Regions from separate parts of the Homo sapiens genome. Here region 1 is linked to region 2. The links are contacts of gene promoters, found by promoter capture Hi-C in blood cells and fetal thymus (Javierre and others, 2016). All regions are on one chromosome and are shown on one strand. Each heading gives the region's core, a stretch centred on a gene start or on the middle of the fragment in contact. The rest is flanking DNA. Distances are from core to core; before and after follow the strand shown.

Region 1 (6,349 bases), core at 2,626-5,125, 380 kb before region 2:
TAATATTCTGAAGTTCTCAGTGAGTGTTCAGGTCACAGTACCATGTCCATTAGGAGAGAGTTACTGGGTTTGTTTGTTTGTTTAATTTCCTGGCTCCTAGAACTGATTAAAAAAAAAAAAATTAAAACTTCCCGAACTGGCTGGGCGTGGTGGCTCACGCCTGTAATCCCAGCACCTTGGGAGATCAAGGCGTGTTGATCACCTGAGGTCAGGAGTTCAAGACCAGCCTGGCCAACATGGTGAAACCCCATCTCTACTAAAACTACAAAAATTAGCCAGGCATGGTCGCAAGCACCTGTAGTCCTAGCTACTTGGGAGGCTAAGGCAGGAGAATCACTTGAACCCAGGAGGCGGAGGTTGCAGTGAGCTGAGATCGTGCCACTGCACTCCAGCCTGGGCTACAAGAGTGAAACTCCATCTCAAAACAAACAAACAAAACTTCCTGAACATGACCCAGGCTTACTCAAGGAGGGGAGAGTTCCCAGCTCTAACACTGACCCCAAGCACAAAGACATCCCTTCCGCAGTGTTTTTAGCAAAATGTTCCCCTCCAGTGTGTCAAGAAACTTTTATTATTATTATTATTATTATTATTATTATTATTTTGAAACTCTCACTCTGTCACCCAGTCTGGAGCACAGTGGCACGATCTTGGCTCACTGCAACCTCTGCCTCTCGGGTTGAAGCGAGTCTCATGCCTCAGCCTCCAGCGTAGCTGGGATTACAGGCACCTGCCACCGCACCCGACTAATTTTTGTATTTTTAGTAGAGACGGGGTTTCACCACGTTGGCCAGACTGGTCTCGAACTCCTGACCTCAGGTGATCCACCTGCCTCAGCCTCCCAAAGTGCTGGGATTATAGGCGTTGAGTCACCGTGCCTGGCCTATGGCAAGAAACTTTAGAACAACCAGAAAGGCCCACCCAGAGCCATGTTAAAGCCTTTGGAGGCTGCTGCACTTGTAATTCTAAATTAAATTTATATTATAAAATACTAGTTTATAAAGTCACAAGCTCTGAGTTTTTCCCCATAATGCTCCTGATAGTTATTTATATAATTTTTTTATGGGGAGGTTCAGGATCTCACTGTCATCCAGGCTGGAGAGCAGTGGCACAATCATAGCTGACTGCAGCCTCAAATTCCTGGGCTCAAGCTATCCTCCTACCTTGGTCCACTGAGTAGCTGGGACTACAGGCTCACATCATTGCACCCGGCTAATTTTTTTTATTTTTAATTTTTTGTATAGATGGGGTCTCACTATGTTGCCCAGGCTGGAACTCCTGGCCTCAAAAGATCCTCCCACCTCACCTTCCCAGAATGCTGGGATGACAGGCGTGAGCCACTGTGCCCAGCCTAGTAACTTTTTAAAAAATATCAAGTTCTCTCTCCCCATAATTGCTTCAGGACCCCTGCTCAAGTATGGTTCTCGATGTCTAGGGAATTTCAGCCCCATCCTCCCGGGTTGTCCAGTTCTAGTCCAGAGTTCTTGCTGATGCAGTTACCTCAGAGATCATTGAGTGGGCCAAGAGAACCAGATCTGCCTGCTGGATGCTCCTGATAGTTATTTATGTAACTATCCGCCATGATGCTCCTGATAGTTATTTATGTAACTTTTTTATGGGGAGGCTGAGGGTCTCACTGTCACCCAGGCTGGAGTGCAGTGGCACAATCATAGCTGCCTGCAGCCTCAAATTCCTGGGCTCAAGAGATCCTCCCGCCTCAGGAGGCAGGAGGATGGTCTTCTTCTTCAGGAGTCCCTGTCTGCCCAGGGGCAGCTGTCACTGGAATCTTTTAGCTGCCAGGAATGAGGTGATGGCTGAAGAGCCCACCACTAAGAAAATGGTTAGTCACCCCTTTGACAATGCTTCCTTTGTGCCATGCCTGCTCTGAGCACTTTGCAAATGTTGACTCATATAAACTTCAAAGCCCTCATGATGTGGGCACAACTGCTATCCTCATTCCTCATTGTGCAGATGAGGAAGCTAAGGCCAGCAAAGGCCTAGTAACTAACCCAAGGTTACCCAGCCGGGAAATGCTGGAGCTGGGAATGAAGCCCAGCTGTCTGGTTCCAGAGCCAGTGTTACATGGCTCTGACCTCCCAGGCAGTTCTTCCAGGAACCTCCCCCACTTCCCTGGGCCCTTCCCAGGTGGAACCCCTTTCTGAGCCTCCTTTTCCCATCAGCTCTGTCCTTGACAGAGGCACCCCAGACTTTCAGAGCCAAACGCGATCGTGTTGCCTACAATTGAGGAAACAGAGGCCTTGAAAGGTGTGTGACACACCTATGTCCCCCCAAATTATAAAGGTAGTTGGGGAAGAAAAAGAAGCACGTGTGTAAGAACGGGGAATATTTATGAGGTTCTCACTGCGTTCCAGGCACTGGGGACCCAGTGCAGACAGGACCTGGCCCCTGCCCAGGTGGCGATGTCAGACTGGGAGGGAAGACACATTGAAAGCCAAGAGACAAGATAAATTTCAAATTTAGCGGCAAGTGATCTTGAGAGGGCAGTAAAGGGAAGAAGGCGGGACTGGGAGGACCTTGGGAGATGCGCTTCCGTCCAGATCCTCACCTTGCTTTAGGAGGTGAGAACAGAGGCAGTCTTCCGTCCCAAAATCCTTCTCCCCACGGTTGGGAGAATAGCGCTGGTGGGTTTTTTGTTCATTTTACTTTATTTTACTTATTTTATTTATTTATGAGACGGAGTCTCGCTCTGTTGCCGAGGCTGGAGTGCAACGGCCGGATCTCGGCTCACTGCAACCTCCGCCTCCCCGATTCAAGCTATTCTCAGGCCTCAATCTCCTGAGTAGCTGGGATTACAGGTTCGTGCCACCAACGCCCGGGTAATTTTTATATTTTTAGCAGAGATGGGGTTTCACCATGTTGGCCAGGCTGGTCTCGAACTCCTGACCTCAAGTGATCCGCCCGCCTCGGCCTCCCAAAATGCTGGGATTACAGGCGTGAGCCACCGCGCCCGGCCTGTTTGTTAATCTTAAATAGAAACGGAGTCTCCTTATGTTGCCTAGGCTGGTCTCCAACTCCTAGGCTCAAGAGATCCTCCTGTCTTGGCCTCAGGAAGTGATGGGATTACAGGCATGAGGCTCCGCGCCCGGCCTGATAGGTTCTCTTATTGCCATGTTGTAGATAGAAGGGGGCCCCTGGGTTAGGCAGACACAGGTTAGGTAGTTCGTCCGGCGTCACCGGGCGGGAGCCCACCGCAGGCCCCACGAGACAAGGGCGAGCAGGTTCATCGCCTCCCGGGGAAAGGACTGGGTAGTCCCAGGCCCCACCCCTTCCTGGAACAGCAAGTTCGCTGTGGGTCCCGACCTACTGACCCAGGCGGAGGGCGGGACGCAGGGTAGCTGGGGCCGCGTAGAGAGGGAAAGAAGGTCGCGATTGGCTCGTCCCGAAAGGTGGGCGGGGCCTCCTCCGACCTGTGCGCGCGCGCCGCGGGGAGGTGTTGCCGAGGGCGGAGCGGGAGGGGGCGTGGCCCCGCGCGGGCGGCCGTTGACGGCGAGGCCCCGCCCCGGATGTCGCGTGTCGCTGAAAGGGCGGCGGCGATTGGCCGGCGCCGCGGGGGCGGGCGGGGCGGAAGGTTCTGGAGGGGGCTGGCGGGCTCTGGAAGCTTCCGCCGGACGGGTATATAGAGTCCGGGACTGGTCGGCGGCGGAGCCGGGGGACGGCGACAGCGGGTCGGCGGGCCGCAGGAGGGGGTCATGGGTAAAGACTACTACCAGACGTTGGGCCTGGCCCGCGGCGCGTCGGACGAGGAGATCAAGCGGGCCTACCGCCGCCAGGCGCTGCGCTACCACCCGGACAAGAACAAGGAGCCCGGCGCCGAGGAGAAGTTCAAGGAGATCGCTGAGGCCTACGACGTGCTCAGCGACCCGCGCAAGCGCGAGATCTTCGACCGCTACGGGGAGGAAGGTGTGTGCTCGCGGCCAGGGGCGCGGCCCCGCCTTTTGACAGACAGGGAAACTGAGGCACGCTGGCCCCTCTCGGCGGCCCCCCGGGAAGGACGCCCCGGGCCGTGGGGCCGAGCTGCCCCGCCCTCCGGCCTCGCGGGCCTCCGCCCTCGGATTGGCGGCCGCGCGGTGGGAGGAGGAGCCTTGGCCCAGCCGCTCGGCCAGAAGCTTCTAGCATGTCTGGGGCTGCCCCTCCCCGGGCGCCTCCTCCCGCGGCCCCGAGCAGCCCCGGGGTGCGGTGCATGGGGGTGGGGGAGCCGGGGGTGACGACGGGGACGGCGCGGCGGAGCCCGCTGCGGACCCGGGCTCACCTGGGCTCGGCCGCCGGGGTCCGCGGGGCGGCGCCTCCGGCTCAGCTGCGGGGCGAGGGGTTGTGAATGCAGGAGCCGACCCCGTTCGTGGGCTTGGGGGCTGGGTTGGGATAATTCCCGGGAAGTGATGACCTGGCCCCGGCAGGGCACGCAGGAGGCAGCGGCCGCCCAGGTCCGGAGAGCGGGGCCGCCTCGGAGGGTAAGGAGAGCAGGGCTTTTTGTTCCTGTGCCCGTTGATGATTCAGGCTGGCTTCTGGGCTTGATCTGGAGCTGACTTTTTGTGCAAGGATGGTGGCAGTGAATGCTAATGTGTGAGGATTTAAAAACTCCCTATTTATTTTTGTTTTTTTTTTTCTTCTCTTCCTACGCACCATTAGCCCTAAAACGTTGAGAGTAAACACTTACCGAAAGCCGACCCTGGACCATGTGTCTTTAGCCATCTCTTGGTGATGTTGCCAGGAGGATGGGTCAGTCCAGGAGTGGCAGGGCCTAGGTGGCACCTGGAGGTGAACACCTAACCGCATGAGTCCTTTTCCACTGTCAGGCTACGCGGAAATACTGTTGGTAGGGGGGCGTCTCTGCTGTTGGCAGTGAGAGGTAGAAACTTGGGGTTCTTCCTTGCTCTCCCCTGACAGACAAAAAAGTTCCTCCCCCATGGCTTCCAAGCTGTTTCCCCCTGTAAGGGAAGCTCGAGAGAGAGTCTGCTGTTCAGCCATCTGACTGCTTCTAAATCTGCTTTTCAGGCCTAAAGGGGAGTGGCCCCAGTGGCGGTAGCGGCGGTGGTGCCAATGGTACCTCTTTCAGCTACACATTCCATGGAGACCCTCATGCCATGTTTGCTGAGTTCTTCGGTGGCAGAAATCCCTTTGACACCTTTTTTGGGCAGCGGAACGGGGAGGAAGGCATGGACATTGATGACCCATTCTCTGGCTTCCCTATGGGCATGGGTGGCTTCACCAACGTGAACTTTGGCCGCTCCCGCTCTGCCCAAGAGCCCGCCCGAAAGAAGCAAGATCCCCCAGTCACCCACGACCTTCGAGTCTCCCTTGAAGAGATCTACAGCGGCTGTACCAAGAAGATGAAAATCTCCCACAAGCGGCTAAACCCCGACGGAAAGAGCATTCGAAACGAAGACAAAATATTGACCATCGAAGTGAAGAAGGGGTGGAAAGAAGGAACCAAAATCACTTTCCCCAAGGAAGGAGACCAGACCTCCAACAACATTCCAGCTGATATCGTCTTTGTTTTAAAGGACAAGCCCCACAATATCTTTAAGAGAGATGGCTCTGATGTCATTTATCCTGCCAGGATCAGCCTCCGGGAGGTAAGGTGCCAGGTGGGGCGGTGTCTGTAGAGGGCGATGGCTGCTTTTTGAAGCAGTTTAGTATTTGCTGAACCAATGTGTTGGGGTGTGTGGTGCGTGCCAGGCTTGGGGCACAACAGTGAACAGGACTGACCAGGGCGCTGTTGTGGAGCTTTCGTGGTGGGGACGTGTAGATTTGGGGGCCAGGTCTTAGCTGCAGAGGCCTGATGGGTCTTATCTATGGCAGACGGCCTCTGGGCAAGAGCTGAGCCTCTTGAGCCAGCTTCCATCTAATGCTGTCCTTTTGCTTTTCAAGGCTCTGTGTGGCTGCACAGTGAACGTCCCCACTCTGGACGGCAGGACGATACCCGTCGTATTCAAAGATGTTATCAGGCCTGGCATGCGGCGAAAAGTTCCTGGAGAAGGCCTCCCCCTCCCCAAAACACCCGAGAAACGTGGGGACCTCATTATTGAGTTTGAAGTGATCTTCCCCGAAAGGATTCCCCAGACATCAAGAACCGTACTTGAGCAGGTTCTTCCAATATAGCTATCTGAGCTCCCCAAGGACTGACCAGGGACCTTTCCAGAGCTCAAGGATTTCTGGACCTTTCTACCAGTTGTGGACCATGAGAGGGTGGGAGGGCCCAGGGAGGGCTTTCGTACTGCTGAATGTTTTCCAGAGCATATATTACAATCTTTCAAAGTCGCACACTAGACTTCAGTGGTTTTTCGAGCTATAGGGCATCAGGTGGTGGGAACAGCAGGAAAAGGCATTC
Region 2 (6,739 bases), core at 3,130-5,629:
ACATTCCAGGTACTATGCTAAACCCACCCTTTACATAGATTTATTCTTTTTTTTTTTGAGACGGAGTCTTCCTCTGTCACCAGACTGGAGTGCAGTGGTGCAATCTAGGCTCACTGCAACCTCCACCTCCCAGGTTCAAGCAATTCCCCTGCCTCAGCCTCCCAAGTAGCTAGGACTACAGGTACGCACCACCACGGCTGGCTAATTTTTTGTATTTTAGTAGAGACAGGTTTTAATCATGTTTGCCATGATGGTCTCGATCTCCTGACCTGGTAATCCGCCCACCTCGGCCTCCCAGAGTGTGTGACTCACTGCGCCCAGCCAGATTTATTCTTTTTGAAAAATTGATTGAGGACTTTCTATGAGCCACGTCCTCTGCTAAGCTCTGGAAGTACAACATTGAGAGGTGTGAGCTAGGCGAGATCTCTTCTCACAACCAGCTTTCAATCTACTGAGGGATGATGAGATAATAAGCACAATTTAAAACCAAAATAAGTAGAAATTCTTTTTTTCTTTTTAAGATGGAATCTCTCTCAGTTGCCCAGGCTTGAGTGCAGTGGCGTGATCTCGGCTCATTGCAGCCTCTGCCTCCCCGGTTCAAGCAATTCTTCTGCCTCCTGAGCAGCTGGGACTACAGGCACGTGCCACCACGCCCAGCTAATTTATTTATTTATTTATTTATTTATTTTGTATTTTTTTTTTTTAGTAGAAACGGGGTCTTGCCATGTTGGCCAGGCTGGTCTCGAACTCCTGACCTCAAGTGACCGGCCCGCCTTGGCCTCCTAAAGTGCTGGGATTATAGGTGTGAGCCACCATGCCCACCCGAAAATAAGTACAAATTCTGATATGCGTTACTAAGATCATAAAACTGAGTGATGTGATTAAGAAAAAGCTACTTTATTTATTTATTTATTTTTTTTGACACGGAGTCTTGCTCTGTCACCCAGGCTGGATTGCAGAGGCACGATCTCAGCTCACTGCAACCCTCACCTCTCAGATTCAAGCGATTCACCTGCCTCAGCCTCCCAAGTAGCTGGGACTACAGGCGCCCGCCACCACGCCCGGCTAATTTTTTGTATTTTTAGTAGAGATGCGGTTTCACCATGTTAGCCAGGATGGTCTCGATCTCCTGACCTCGTGATCCGCCTGCCTTGGCCTCCCAAAGTGCTGGGATTACAGGCATGAGCCACCGCGCCCGGCCAAGAAAGTGCTACTTTAAATAGGGTACTCTGGGAAGTCTTCTTTCAGAGGACATTTGAGCTGAACCACAAGCGAAGAGAAAGAGACAGCCATGCAATTATCTGGAGGAAGCACATTCCAGGCAGAGGGAACGGCAAGTGCAAAGCCCTGCGGCAGAAATAAGCTGGGTGTGTTGAAAGAAGGGAAATAAAGCCAGCTGGGCTTGAGAGCGGTGACAAGAGGAAGAATGGTAGATGAGGCCTGAGAGGTCAGCTGAGGCCACCACGCAGGGCCGCCTAAGCCATAGGAAAGATCTTAGGTTTCATTCTAAGTAGGATAAGCCTCTGAAGGTTTTAAGCAGAGTAATGACATGATCTGGTTTACAAGTGAAGATCATTCAGCCAGCTGTAAGGAGAATGCATCATAGACAGGGCCACATTCTTCATTAGCGCCACGGAAATAATGCTGGTGGATCATGAGCTTCTCAGGGGCTACGAAAAGGTCAGGGACAGGGATAAAGGGAAAAAAGTTCCACAATGCAAAGAGAAAACTACAAAGTTGGAATGAATAAATGTTTAATTAAGCATCTAGAAATGTGACATCATGACAACTGCATTAATCATTAAATTTAGTATTCATAAGCAATCGAATTACATTTGGAAATTAGATTTTCTCAAATCACAAATATCCCTAAGTATGCAATGATTGCCAAGAAATCAAGCGAATCATAAATGTGAGTTTCCTTGAAGCCAAATAATTTCAAAAGAATAAAAACAAAGCTTTCGATTTTTTAACAGCTAAAAAGAATTTTTCTTAACTTAATGTGAGATGTAGATACCAAAAATGGGCTAGGCGCTGTAATCCCAGCACTTAAGGACAAGATAGGTGGACTGCTTGAGGCCAGGAGTTTCAAGACCAGCCTGGGCAACAGCGAGACCCTGTCTCTACAAAAAATTTAAAAAGTATAAGAGGCAGGGCACGGTGGCTCATGCCTGTAATCTCAGCACTTTGGGCGGCCGAGGTGAGTGGATCACCTGAGGTCAGGAGTTTGAGACCAGCCTGGCCAACATAGTGAAACCCCATCTTTACTAAAAATACAAAAATTAGCTGGGTAAGGTAGCGTGTGCCTGTAGTCCCAGCTACTCGGGAGGCTGAGGTGGGAGAATCGCTTGAAGCTGGAAGCAGGAGGTTGCAGTGAGCTGAGATTGCGCCACTGCATTCCAGCCTGAGTGACAGAGCAAGACTCCCTCTCAAAAAAAAAATAAAATAAAATAAAACAAATTAGGCATGGTGGCACGCACTGGTGATCCCAGCCACTCGGGAGGCTGAGGTGGGAGGATCACTTGAGCCCAAGAGTTCCAGGTTATAGTGAGCCACGATTATGCCACTTGCACTCCAGCCTGGGCAACAGACCTCTATTAAAAAAAAAAAATCCCACAGGAACTGGATTGTTTAAAAAGAAAAGGAAAAGGAAAACATACTAGCACAGTGAGTGAGTCCTAGTGAGCCCACAGAGGTGACTGGGTAAGAAATACTAGTGCCTTGGCTCAGTGCTGTTCAGGCGTACGGCCTGTGAGTTTGAACACTGTCCAGAGCACCCTTAGAAAGGCCTCTCTGGGGAGAGGACATTTGAACAGAGACTTGAATGACAAGAAGGCATAAGCCATGCCAAGAGCCTAGGAGAAGAGGTTCTGGGCAGAGGCTTTGCACTGGGAGTGGCTTGTCAGAATTTTAACAAAAAGAGGGTTACTTAGCCTGGTTTGAAGTTGGAGCTGGGTGGTTAACAGGAGACAAAGCATAGAGTTTCAAAGACAATGCTCTCATCCGGAGAAGTGACCTGGTCAAATGTGTTTCTGACCTTCGCTGTCCAGTAATACAGGAGCCACTTGTCACACGGGCTCAGGAGCACTCAACTGCGGCTATCAAGACAGCTAAACTGAACTTTCTTTTTTAAAATTTAATTTTAATTTTTAGAGACAGGGTCTCACTCTGACACTCAGGCTGGAGTGCAGTGGCTGGAGCATTCTGGGCTCAAGAGATCCTCCTGCCTCAGCTTCAGGAGTAGCAGACACTACAGGTATGCACTACCACACCTGGCTTATTCTTTTATTTTTTGTAGATATGAGGTCTTGTTATGTTGCCCAGGCTGATCTTGAACTCCTGGCCTCAAGAAATCCTCCATGACCAGCCTCTAAAATTACAAATAATAATAAAAAAAGATATGGCCGGGCACAGTGGCTCACGCCTGTAATCCCAGCACTCTGGAAGGCCGAGGCGGGCGGATCACTTGAGGTCAGGAGTTCGAGACCAGCCTGGCCAACATGGTGAAACCCCGTCTCTACTGAAAATACAGAAAAAAAATTAGCTGGTTGTGGTGGTGGGCACCTGTAATCCCAGCTACTCAGGAGGCTGAGGCAGGAGAATCGCTTGAACCCGGGAGGTAGAGGTTGCAGTGAGCCGAGATCGCGCCATTGCACTCCAGCCTGAGTGACAGCGCGAGATTCCATCTCAAAAAAAAAAAAGTGGCTTCCAAAAAATGTTAATTTTACACCTAATTTTGGTGCGCGGCTGGCATTATTTTTCCACTGGGCAGCACTGATCGCCCGTGGGGGCAGAGACTCTGAGACCTGGAGTCTCCCAGGCCGGGGGCGACGGCCCAGACGGGAGGCGGTGGAGAGAAGTTTCCGGATGTATTATGTGGTCATGAATCATGTCAGGGAATTGCCACGGCCCCCGTTGAATGGGGAGGCGCTGCCTCGGGCGCTGAGTAGCAGAGCCCGGACTCTGAACACTGGTCTGCCCCCGAACTGGAACTCCCATTTTCAGTACCGTCCGCTTGAAACCTCCCAAGAGCCCTCAAGGGGGCGAGAGAGGGATCCAAACCCCTCGGGGGCGAGAGCGGGATCCGAACCCCTCGGGGGCGAGAGCGGGATCCGAACCCCTCGGGGGCGAGAGCGGGATCCGAACCCCTCGGGGGCGAAAGCGGGATCCGAACCCGGCCGGATTCCCGAGGTCTGAGCGCGCCTCGTGACCGCCACTCCGAACGTTCGCAACGTTCACAACGGACTCCCGCGCCGCTGGACCTCAAGGGTCAGGAGCCACTCAGAAAAGCTCCAGGAAACGCTCACCTGTTGACAGACGCTGAGGCCGCAAACGCTCCTCCTCTCTCTTCACACTCGCCAACACCGCGGTGGCGCTCGACTTCCGCTTCTCTCCAGCGAATCCCCAGCTGAGCCTCCTTCTGCTCCCGCCACCATTACCAATCCAGCCAATAAACTCTCAGAAAACCCTCTTTATCTCCGCCCCACTCCCTCCTGCCAATCACTTCGGGTGCGAGCACCGCCCTTCCCGCCTTCTTTAGCGAGCGCCGCGCGCCACCGCTCGGCGGGTGGCGGCGCTGCGCGCTGCGGGATGCATCTCCCGGAAAAGCGAGGCGAGGGGCGGGCCACGCCGGTGCGGGAACCCTCAGGATTGGCCAGAAGGAGGCCGGCGCTGTGACTCCGTCCATTCCCGCCGTTGACATCCAAGTCGGAGACGCTGGGGATTGGTTTCCAGCGGACACGCTAAGAAGCTTGGAGATAGTTTCGCCCTCCTCACACGCTGCGGAGAGGGAGCTCCGCTGATTGGTCCGAGGAGTCTGGGCGCGCGCCGATCGGCGCTCCAGGACTGGCTGAGGGGGTGCGCGCGCCGCCAGGGAGCGTTGGCGGTGATTGGCCAGAGGGCGGAGGCCGGCTATTTGAAGGCGGCGCGCGGACTAGGTGCGCACTTCAGTTCTCGGAGAGAAGAGGCGGGAGTGGACCTGGTCAGCCCTACCCCACTGACCCCACCGGACCCAGGCGCGGCCTCCGCCACAGCCACAGCCCCTGCCCCTGCTGCGGCGCGGCGAGGCGAGGCGATGGCCAAGGTGTCGGTGCTGAACGTGGCGGTCCTGGAGAACCCGAGCCCTTTCCACAGCCCCTTCCGGTTCGAGATCAGCTTCGAGTGCAGTGAAGCCCTGGCGGACGGTGAGGCTGGGCCTGTGCGGGGACCCCCACCCCCGGGCCGACCCCGGCCTCCCCTCAGAGAACCGCTCCCATGGCCAACTTGATCTCCCCCATGAAACCCCTCGTCCCCCTTCCGCCAACCCCGATCTCCCCCAGCCCGCCAGTCAACCGGATCTCCCGGTGGAGACCCCCCGCCACCAGCCAACACGGACCTCCCCGTGACCTCCTCCCCCACTGCCCGCCTTGACCTCCCGGGTGGAGACCCCCCGCCAGCTAACTCGGACCTCCCAGTGGCCTCTTCCCCCACTGCCCGCCCCGACCTCCCCATAGAGATTAACCCCCTCCAAGCCCCATTTCCCGCGTGGGGAACCTCATCCATCTTTTTTCTCTGGAGCTCTTCCTAGGTACCCGTTTTCATGGGGAGACCTTCTCGGCCTCCATTTCTTAACCCACGGAGATCTTCAGCCACCGTGGTTTCCCTGTGGCAAGACCCCCGCTTCAACCACCCACCCATTTTTGCCCACTTATTCCCTCTTTCCTGTAGTGAGATACTCACACCTCCCATTTTCCCTCTGGAGACCCCCAATATCCAGCCCCTTCCCATTTTCCCCGGGGGAAATCCCAGCCATCTCCTATTTTCCCTATGGAGACCTCTCACCCAAGCTCCTCTCTCCTTGCCGTGAAGACCCTCCCCTCCAGTAACCTTTTTTTCCTGTGAAAACCCCTCAACCCCTTTTCAGGACCTCTCTCAACCCCATCTTCCCATTTGTGTCCCACCAGTCCCCTCCCCAACCTGCCAATATTTCAATAACCCCACGCCCACCAGTTGCTGCCGCTTTTCTGCCCCAATGCACATACCCTGGAACCTGGTTTCTCTCCTTCGTTGGGGCCCAACCCCCCTATGCTTGAGCTCTCCCTGGGAAAGGATGCTACCGTCTTTGAGGGGAACTTTGTCTCCCCAGCTCCCCTTCCCCACCTTTCTCTGTGGGCTTGGATAAACACACTGAGATCCGAGGGGTGGCATAGCCAGGCAGGCATTAGCTAGTTCTCCAGGTTTGCCCACCCGTTTCCAGCTGAGTTACTGCAGCAATTTTTCTGTCACTTTTTCTTTCTTCTTCTTCCTCTTCTTTTTTTTTTTTTTTTTTTTGAGACAGTCTCACTCTGTTGCCCAGGCTGGAGTGCAATGGCACGATCTCGGCTCACTGCAACCTCCACCTCCCGAGTTCAAGCGATTCTTCTGCCTCAGCCTCCCGAGTAGCTGGGACTACAGGCGCCTGTCACCACGCCCAGCTAATTTTAGTATTTTTAGTGGAGGCAGCGTTTCACCATGTTAGCCAGGTTGGTCTCGAACTCCTGACCTCAAGTGATCCACCCGCCTTGGCCTCCCAAAGTGCTGGGATTACAGGCGTGAGCCACCGTGCCCCGTCTTCTTCTTTTTTTTTTTTAATATAGCTGGATAATCAGTGCCAAGCTCCCGTTGCTTTTGATGGTCTGACCTAGTCTGGGGGGTGGGTGGATTGGGCTGAGCTGTGACGGGCTCCAGCTTCAAACAGTCGGCTGGAGCTTGGAGGTCACAG

Evidence for each region. Contacts are between HindIII fragments. The CHiCAGO score rates a contact against its expected background, and 5 or more counts as called.
Region 1: a fragment that was not itself captured here is called in contact with the fragment with the promoter of ADGRL1-AS1 in region 2 in 2 of 17 cell types (naive CD4 T cells and fetal thymus); the score reaches 8.1 in naive CD4 T cells.

What each region holds. Positions count from the first base shown.
Region 1 is chr19:14,515,711-14,522,059 of GRCh38, reverse strand. It overlaps DNAJB1 (DnaJ heat shock protein family (Hsp40) member B1), which reads left to right and starts at 3,663. Exons shown (of 3, transcript NM_006145.3): 1 at 3,663-3,921; 2 at 5,014-5,594; 3 at 5,890-6,349. The coding sequence starts at 3,711. The coding sequence ends at 6,120. RefSeq lists an enhancer at 1,640-2,369 and silencers at 3,282-3,601, 3,812-4,381. The HindIII fragment of the contact is 508 bases long and covers 3,622-4,129 here.
Region 2 is chr19:14,134,792-14,141,530 of GRCh38, reverse strand. It overlaps ADGRL1-AS1 (ADGRL1 antisense RNA 1), which reads right to left and starts at 4,379. Exons shown (of 3, transcript NR_045214.1): 1 at 4,308-4,379. It overlaps ASF1B (anti-silencing function 1B histone chaperone), which reads left to right and starts at 4,942. Exons shown (of 4, transcript NM_018154.3): 1 at 4,942-5,183. The coding sequence starts at 5,075. RefSeq lists enhancers at 4,297-4,456, 3,953-4,579, 4,657-4,796 and a silencer at 5,127-5,176. The HindIII fragment of the contact is 2,792 bases long and covers 1,961-4,752 here.